Regions from separate parts of the Homo sapiens genome. Here region 2 is linked to region 1. Evidence: promoter capture Hi-C in 16 types of primary human blood cells and fetal thymus (Javierre and others, 2016). All regions are on one chromosome and are shown on one strand. Each heading gives the region's core, a stretch centred on a gene start or on the middle of the fragment in contact. The rest is flanking DNA. Distances are from core to core; before and after follow the strand shown.

Region 1 (4,428 bases), core at 1,209-3,708:
GTGAAACTCCATCTCTACTAAAAGTAAATTAAAAAAAAAAATTAGCTGAGCATGGTGGCGGGTGCCTGTAGTCCCAGCTACTTGGGAGGCTGAAGCAGAAGCAAGGTGAGAACCCGGGAGGTGGAGCTTGCAGTGAGCTGAGATCGAGCCACTGCACTCCAGCCTGGGCAACAGAACAAGACTCCGTCTCAAAAAAAGAAAAGAAAAGAGAGCACCATGTTTGGTCAAGCAAAAAGGACGGGTTACAAAACAGCTTCTGTGTATGATGCGATTCATGTAAATTTGTTGCCATGTGTATACAGCCGTATGCATGTATACTTTCTTCACTCCCTGTATTGCTTGAATTTTGTACCTGAGTATGTATTATCTCTATAGCCAGAAGAACAATTAAATTGCTTTTAAAGCATCTGATTATTCCCCAGGCACAGATTTTAATTTGTGAAGCACCCACTTTATGCCTGGCATTGGGGTACCCTGAGCCGCCCAAGGCTTTGGCTCCCGTCTGTCATCTCTAGCCTGATCATCAGAATCAGAGAATGTTGGAACTGGTAACACTTAGTTCACACCCGTATTTTACAGATGAAGGCAATAAGGCCCAGAGAAGGTAAGTGACCTGCTGAAGGTCACACAGCCAGTTTGGCCCAGAGATAACAGAACCCAGGACTCTACTGCCAGGCTATGATGCTCACTTCTAAACTGAGTATGGGCCGGGTGCAGTGGCTCTCACTTGTAATCTCGCACTTTGGGAGGCTGAGGTGGGCAGATCACCTGAGGTCAGGAGTTTGAGACCAGCCTGGCCAACATGGCGAAACTGTCTCTACTTAAAATACACAAAAAATTAGCCGGGCATGGTGGCACACGCCTGTAGTCCCAGCTACTCAGGAGGCTGAGGCAGGAGAATTGCTTGAACCCGGGAAGTAGAGGTTGCACCGAGCTGAGATCGTGCCGCTGCACTTCACCCTAGGTGACAGAGCGAGACCCTGTCTCAAAAAAAAAAAACGAGGAGTATGAATTATTATTTGGGGTCTCGAGCAGTGGGGCAGGCAGTGATTTTGATGCCCTGTCTTCTGGGAGCTCCCGTCCAAGCAAGCCCAGGATGAAAGATAAAAGGGCCCTGAATAAGACCATCATTAGTGGGGAGGAGCCTGACCCTGCATAGGCAGAAAAGCAGCTTCAGCAGGGCCCAGGGTCTACAGGGCAGCAGCCTGCAGGGTGTTGAGGAAGGAGCTGCCCTGGGCTGCTGCCAGATGTCAGTAATTATAAGGCTATGTGGGTCTGCAGACAGCTCATTAAAGACGCTTGATCTGCGTGAAACCAGGAAGCAGAACTCAGCCTCTTTGCCACTTTCTGTAAGAAATCCAACCACATCAAACACTTTGGGGTTTTTATGCAGTTTCCTGAATGTTGGGGTGATCCCAGGGAGCGGCCTCATCCTACTGTGCTCAGCACACGGTTGTCTCCTTACCCTTCCTTGTCTCTTTCCCTCGATTCTACCCCCTCCCACTTCCCCTTCCTCACTGGCCCAGGCCACATCCAGCCTTCGATAGCCCCAAGTCATCCATCAAAGCATTTCTCCGGCAAAAAGAAACCTACCCCACCGGCTTCCATGAAAATAAAATCCCCTCTATTTCATTAACAAAAGACCTCAGATGCCTTGAATTCCAGCACCTTCAAGCCCAGAATCTTAGACTTTGAGCTGGAATGGCCCTGAAGAATAATTGAGTCCAATCCCTTTAGTTTGTAGGTAGAAACACCAGGGTTCCAGGAGGGGAGAGGTCTTGTCCAAGGTCACGGGACACCCATGGCCACCAGGCCTCTAAGCTCCTGGCTGGAGGCCACTCACAAAGTCAGGGCAGATGGGCCTAGCTTCTGAGTCAGAACCAGCTCTCCCCTTTTTCTTATCTACCTCCTCTCAAGAGTCTAGTGTCCACCAAGGAAGTCTAGTGGCCCTGAAGGAGGATCATGGACCTCTGCCTCTTTAGATGCCTGCAGAACAGAGTGGAGCTGTGGGCCCAGGAGTCTTCTGCTCTCACCCAGGAGGGGAGAGGGAGCCACAGACTGACCCGGCACTGCAGCGTGCAACCATGTACTTCGGGGTCCTGGCGCTGAGCCTGTTTTTTCTCATTTGAGGGTTGTTGTGAGGGCTAAGAATGGCCAACCATAAATCCGAGTTCCCTCAGTCTTCTCTCTTTCCCCGTTCTTTTTCTTGCCAGGCTTGTGACCTTTCTGAGCCTCAGTTTCTCCACAGTCCCATTCGCAACTCCGTGTTTCCAAGGTCTCTTGGCAGGAGCCACTCCCACAGTGAACCCCTCTAGGTGCAATTACAGGATGATTTTGTGTCTCGTGGGTGTCGCTGCTAGGGTGGAGGGCCACGCCTCCTCTTTTGAATTCTGACTTTCCTGCCTAGGAGTGTCCCAAGGTTTTCCTTGTTAAAATTGGTCTGGCTGGCTGCTGTGACGCGCCACACTGTCCTGACGGTGCACACACTGCTGTGTGGAGGAACAGAGGAGTCCAGCTGGCCTTCACATGGCAGGTAAGTGGGCAGAGCCTGGGGCCTTGGGACACCAGGGCTCATGAGGGGGGCTTCAAGAAACACGGGTCTGTGGGATGACGTTTGATCATCGATTGTTAGGATTTTACAGCTGGATAGTCCACCATGAACACATGAACTCTTCGTGTGGATTCATGAGGCCCAGGATGAAAAAGCCAGCTTTAAGCCACCCAGCAAGGCCATGGCCCAGGCTGGCTCAGGCGCTGTCTCCTGGGCTGGGGCCAGGTCTCACCCCTGTGCCTCGGAGGACTGAAGGAGGCAGGCACAGGAAGGCAGGGGCAGAAAAAAGAAAATCTCCTTGCACCCCATGCACATTCCATGGATCCAGAGACGTTTCTGGGCATAGTTGGGAATTGTGGCCTGCGTGGGAAGGAGTGAGAGGCCCCCACCGGCTGCATCCTCGCCTGATTCCCACCCCAAGCACTTGAGGGCAAGAGCAGCTCTGGCTCAAGTGAAAACAGCTATATGACCTTGAGCAAGAAAATTTGCCCTTGGTACCTCTGTTTTCTGATCTGTGTAATGGGGATTATAATGCAAATTATCTCACAGCCTTGCTGTGAGGAGTTGGTGAGACCACGTGTGCTGTTCTCCCACCACACATCTCAAGTGGGGACTTGTAAACAGTAGACTCAGAAAATGTGGGTCGGGCACAGTGGCTCACGCCTCTAATCCCAGCATTTTGGGAGGCTGAAGGGGGTGGAATTCTTGAGCTCAGGAGTTTGAGACCAGCCTGGGCAATGTGGCAAAACCCCGTCTCTACAAAAAAATACAACAATTAGCTAGGCATGGTGGGGAACACCCAAAGTCCCAGCTACTTGGGAGGCTGAGGTGAGAGGATCGCTTGAGCTTAGGAGGTAGAGGCTACAGTGAGCCAAGATGGTGCCACTGCACTGCAGGCTGGGCAACAGAGTGAGACCCTGTCTCAAAAAAAAAAGAAAGTAAGATAATGTGTCCCCCACGACCTCAATATAGTGAGCAGCAAACTCCCTCTGCAAGAACTTGTCTTAGATGCTGGGGCCCGGTAATGAGCAAGTCAGCAGAACCAGGGGTCCTACACTCACAGGTATTCAAGGGGTGTTTCTGAGTCTGTGTCTGCCAGTTTTAATTGTTCAGCATTATGTGACAGTTTTATGAATCAAATATTTTTTTAACTTTCAAAGGCAGATATTTGAATTTCCTCATCATAGTCTAGCTTCCTCTTCATATTTCCTCCTGGCAGTTAACAGCATTGCTGGACGTGTTGGGCCCTTCAGGCTCCTAGGATAGGTCTGTTCTGAAGACCAGGCCTTGCCAACACCAGCTCACAGCCCAGACTGCCTGTTTCCAGAGCTGGGGTTGCCTCCCTGATGGCCCTGGTGCAGAGGGGATTGCCTTTGTTCCTCCAAGATCTGCTTCTCAAAGTTCACCTAGATGATCCCTCTTCCCTGGGCCTTTGATAACCTATCAGACTTAAACTTGACAGTGCGAAGGTTAGTTTCTGAGGAAGGAAAAAAGTTGATGATGATGCCCATTGTCAGGTCTGTAACTAACTTGCTGGGTTCCTCTCTCTGAAGCTCTGTTTCTCCGTCTGTGAAATGTCAGCATTGGAGTTGTCATGCCTATGTAAATGGACTATGTGTTGGATTGGATTCAATTCCTGGGTCTTCTGGGTCCTCTTGGCTTCTTGGGAGGATCTGTTCCTCAGAGCAGTAGGTCCTGCCTACCACACACTCTGTGCCTGAATGACTGAGACATCAGATCCTAGATGGAAAGTGTATTCATCTTCCTGGAGCTCCTTCTATCCCCCCTCCCTCACTCCATCCATGGTGGACATCCCTAGTTGACCCCAGAGCTCTTCCCTCTGGAGCCTGGATGTGGCCCCAGAATGCTCAACCCAG
Region 2 (4,428 bases), core at 1,192-3,691, 410 kb before region 1:
GCTCACTGTGGCCTTAGGGCCTGCCCGGCTCTCACCTCCTGCAGTCCTCACCAGCCTCACTGACCTTCTGAGGGTCCTTGGGCCAGCAGTGCTCCCACCTCTGGGCCCTTGCTCTTGCTCTTCTCTCTGCCTGGGGTGCCCTCCCCTCAGCTCTTTCATGGCCGCTCCTTCCCCATTCTTCAGGTCTTAGTTTATTTTATTTTATTTATGTATTTATTTTGAGACAGAGTCTCGCTCTGTCACCCAGGCTGGAGTGCAGCAGCGCGATCTTGGCTCGCTGCAACCTCTGCCTCCCGGGTTCAAACAGTTCTTCTGCCTCAGCCTCCCAAGTAGCTGGGAGCCTGCTACCACCACGCGCAGCTAATTTTTTGTACTTTTAGCAGAGATGGGGTTTCACCGTGTTAGCCGGGATGGTCTTGATCTCCTGACCTCGTGACCCGCCCACATCGGCCTCCCAAAGTGTTAACATTACAGGCATGAGCCACGGCACCCGGCTAGGTCTTATTTTAAATGTCGTCTCCCCAGAGTTTTCCCTGACTATATCATCAGAAGAGCAGCCAATCCCATCAACAGTAATAATAGCATCACAATGAAATTATAACTTTAATAAATAGTTCTTAGCTGAAAACTTATGTCCACACAAAAACCCACACATGAATGTTTATAGCAGCATGCTTCATAATTGCCCAAACTTGGAAGCAACCAAGATGTCCTTCAGGAGGTGAATGGATGAACTGTGCAACGTCCCTCAACAGAATATTATTCAGCGCTAAAAAGAAATGAGCTATGAAGCCACAAAAAGACATGGAGGAACTTAAATTCATATTGCTAAGTGAAAGAAGCCAATCTGAAAATGCTACACACTACGTGACTCCAACTATAAGACATCGTGGAAAACGCAAAACTACGAGAGTACAAAGATCAGTGGTTTCCAAGGGTTTTGAGAAGGAGGGATGAATAGGCAAAACACAGAGGATTTTTAGGACAGTGGGACTTTTATTTATATATTAGATATTATATATAAAAGCATATTTATATATTATATATTAGTGGGACTAGTATTTTAATATTATTCTCTGTGTTACTGTAAAGGTAGATACATGTCATTACGGGTTTTTCTCAAAACCCATAGAATATACGGGACAAAGAGTGAACTCCAGTAACAGTGCATCAATATTGGCTCATCAATTGTAACAAATGTTTCACACTAATGCGAGATGTTAATAACAAGGAAAACTGCAGGTGTTGGGGGGAGGTGAAGAGATGTACGGGGATTCGCTGAACTTTCATTCGAGTTTTCTGTAAACACAGAACTAAAAAATGGGCCGGGTGCAGTGGCTCACGCCTGTGAGCACTTTGGGAGGCTGAGGCGGGTGGATCACCTGAAGTCAGGAGTTCAAGACCAGCCTGGCCAACATGGTGAAACCCCATCTCTACTAAAAATACAAAATTAGCCGGGCATGGTGGCTTGCACCTATAATCCCAACTACTTGGGAGGCTGAGGTAGAAGAATCGCTTGAACCTGGGAGGAGGAGGTTGCAGTGAGCCAAGATCATGCCAATGCACTCTAGGCTGAGTGACAGAGTGAGAGTCAGTCTCGAAAAAAAAATGAAGTCTTTTGTTTTATTATTTTATTTTAATTTTATTTTTTTGAGACAGAGTCTCACTCTTGTCACCCAGGCTGGAGTGCAGTGGCACGATCTCGGCTCACTCCAACCTCTGCCTCTTGGATTCAAGCAATTCTCCTGCCTCAGCCTCCCAAGTAGCTGGGATTACAGGCGCCCGCCACCACCCCCGGGTAAATTTTTGTACTTTTAGTAGAGATGGGGTTTCACCATGTTGGCCAGGCTGGTTTCGAACTCCTGACCTCAAGTGATCTGCCCACCTCAGCCTCCCAAAGTGCTGGGATAACAGGCGTGAGCCACTGCGCCTGGCCTATTAATTAAAAAAAAAAAAATTAAAGCTCTTACAGCCCTTAATGTATATACACTTACAGTGGGGTTTTCTTTGCTTATTCCTGTCTCATCTCCTAGAGAGTGACTTGGTGCATCAATTGATAGCCCAGGGCTTGGCGCCTGGGCAGCTTTTATTATGTGGTAAGGGGGTATAACTGTGCCACTCTTATGCTTAAAATGCAGGAGTAAATTCCAAGCCCATTACCGTGCTGCATAAAGGCTGTCCTGATCTGAGGCTACCTTAGCTGTTAACACATACAACTCCCTTGGGTGATGTTGGGTGCAGACCTGCCACCTGGGACCCCAGAGGGAGGAAGTTTTCAATGCTCTTTAAAGCCTTCCAATTCTATTAAAGATAAAGGCTCCATCTGAGACTAGTAAGTCTTTAACACCCCTCTAATGCTTGCAAAGCTTCCTTTTGTCCTGTCCCTACCAGACTTCAGACTTCGGCTTAGAGCTGGTTCCTCATGGTATTGTTCCTTGAATTGTTGCTTGAATTCATTGTTATGCCACTTCTATTAATGGAATATAATACTGGTTTTCCATTCATGGTAATAACATTAAGCTTCCTTCTTAAATCAGCTCATTCATGGTTTTAAAAAAGTAAGTCGAATTAAAGAAAAATGTTAAAAGATAGTGTCGGCTGTGACAGATTGCATGTGGATGTCTGAAGTTTAAGAAACACGACATGAATTCTAAGAGTCTTTGGAGCAATGACGTGATGATTTGGTTTTCAAGCTGAAATATATTTATCACAGGGTTATTTATGATGCAATAATAATAATAATAACAATGAAAGCAACTCAAATGTTTATCCCATAGGAAGGGTGACCATATAATTTTTCATCCAGAACTCTTCCAAAAGTGAATGAGGTGCTATTAATAATGACACCAGAGGAAAGGCACAACCTTGGAACATTCTAGGCAAACTACCATGTTCATTAGGAAATGCTGAAGTAAACCATGGTATATACAGTTTGTAAACTATTGTGATTATGCAGATTTATAATTGACACTTATAATGATTGCATAAAAATGCTTAAGACATTATAATGTTAAACAAGAAAGGCATATCATCCAGTGTTCGGAGACACACCGAAGAACCACCCTGGGAGAATATATGTTAAAATATTAATCATAGCTAACTCTGAGAGGTGAGATCAAGGATGATATTTATTTTCTTTGTTGGAGACGTATGTATAAATGCGTATACCTCAGCTTGTTCTAGAAAACTCTTATTCGACACACCTGACCATGCCACCTCTCTTGAACTTCTCCACATCCTTCTTTTGTTCCTGAGACAGAGTCCACACATCATGACCACGGCCTAGAGGTCTTGTGTGATCAAGCTCCCTGCTGTGTCTCTGCCCAGCCACCAAAGCCCTCCCTGCGCTCACAGCTACTCACACCAGCTCTGTCCTGCCCCTCCGCAGGTCTCAGTCACCTCCTCAGGAATCCTCAGCCCTTGCCAGGCCAGGTCTCTGCTCCTGACACCTGCATCAACCTTTGCTGTTCAGTCTTCCCAAAGTAACTCTTTTTATTTTCCATAGTTATTTGCTCTGCGAGGTCTTTCCTGCTGAACGCAAACTCCTTGAGCACAGAGGTCATGCGCTCATCTCCAATTTATCCCCATTAATGCGTTAATCCTTACTGTGCCTTGGCCCGGGCAGGGGCTCCATAAATGATCTTATCTGAACCTCTGACTGTTGATCAATTTCATGGGAAACTTCTTGATGCATTTCTGGGTTTTACCAATGTTCCTAAATGGACAACAGATACTGTTGCAATCTGTAAAATCAGTGAGGACCTTGAATAGCAACATTCCCCAGTGGATTAAAATACAATTCGATTTGCCAAACTTTGATTTATACACTTTCCAATGATCTGTCTTTTATGTAAAGCAAGCCCCAATTCAGAGATTTTTCTCCCCGAAAGCTCAAACTATGAGGCTGCATTTTTCAAGGCTGAGACGGGAGTGGGGAGAGGAGGGCTCCAGGCTGGTAGTTTCTTAAATGCCATCCACCACTACCACTGGCAGTGTCTGAGAGTCCTGATGCCTGTGGCTGTGTATTAAGGAGAGAACACTGTGACTGGGGCTTTGATCTCAAGAAAGAAAAGCTCCCATGTCACTCCTCCTGGTACCTCCGTCTCTCATGTTCACTTTGGAGAGTGCCATTCGCTGACAGGGACGCAGAACGTTCCCTTGTGCTCCCTGCAGCCTGCTCTTTATACAACAGCCAGCACAGTCCCTTTAAATCTGGGTCAGATCATGCCCCTCCTGTGCTGAAAATCCTCCAGTGGCTCCCATCTCACCATGGGTCAAAAGTCAACATCCATGGCCCATAAGTGAGGCATCAATACTATACATTATCCAAACCAGGATACTTTGAGAGTAAAAGCAGCTCCACAGTCACACGGAGTGACAGTGTAAACTGGGACAGCGCAAGGTGCGGGACGCCCTCCACCATCTGGT

What was found. The method cuts DNA at HindIII sites, captures the fragments that hold promoters and counts their contacts. A CHiCAGO score of 5 or more calls a contact.
Region 2: a contact is called between a fragment that was not itself captured here and the fragment with the promoter of TGM6 in region 1, in 1 of 17 cell types (M1 macrophages). The highest score is 5.4, in M1 macrophages.

The regions. Positions count from the first base shown.
Region 1 is chr20:2,378,443-2,382,870 of GRCh38, forward strand. TGM6 (transglutaminase 6) reads left to right here and starts at 2,459. Exons shown (of 13, transcript NM_198994.3): 1 at 2,459-2,533. The coding sequence starts at 2,527. The HindIII fragment of the contact is 23,923 bases long and covers 1-4,428 here.
Region 2 is chr20:1,969,697-1,974,124 of GRCh38, forward strand. All of the region lies in intron 3 of PDYN-AS1 (PDYN antisense RNA 1), which reads left to right. Among named protein-coding and RNA genes, the nearest start is that of PDYN, 22 kb to the right of the region's middle. The HindIII fragment of the contact is 154 bases long and covers 2,365-2,518 here.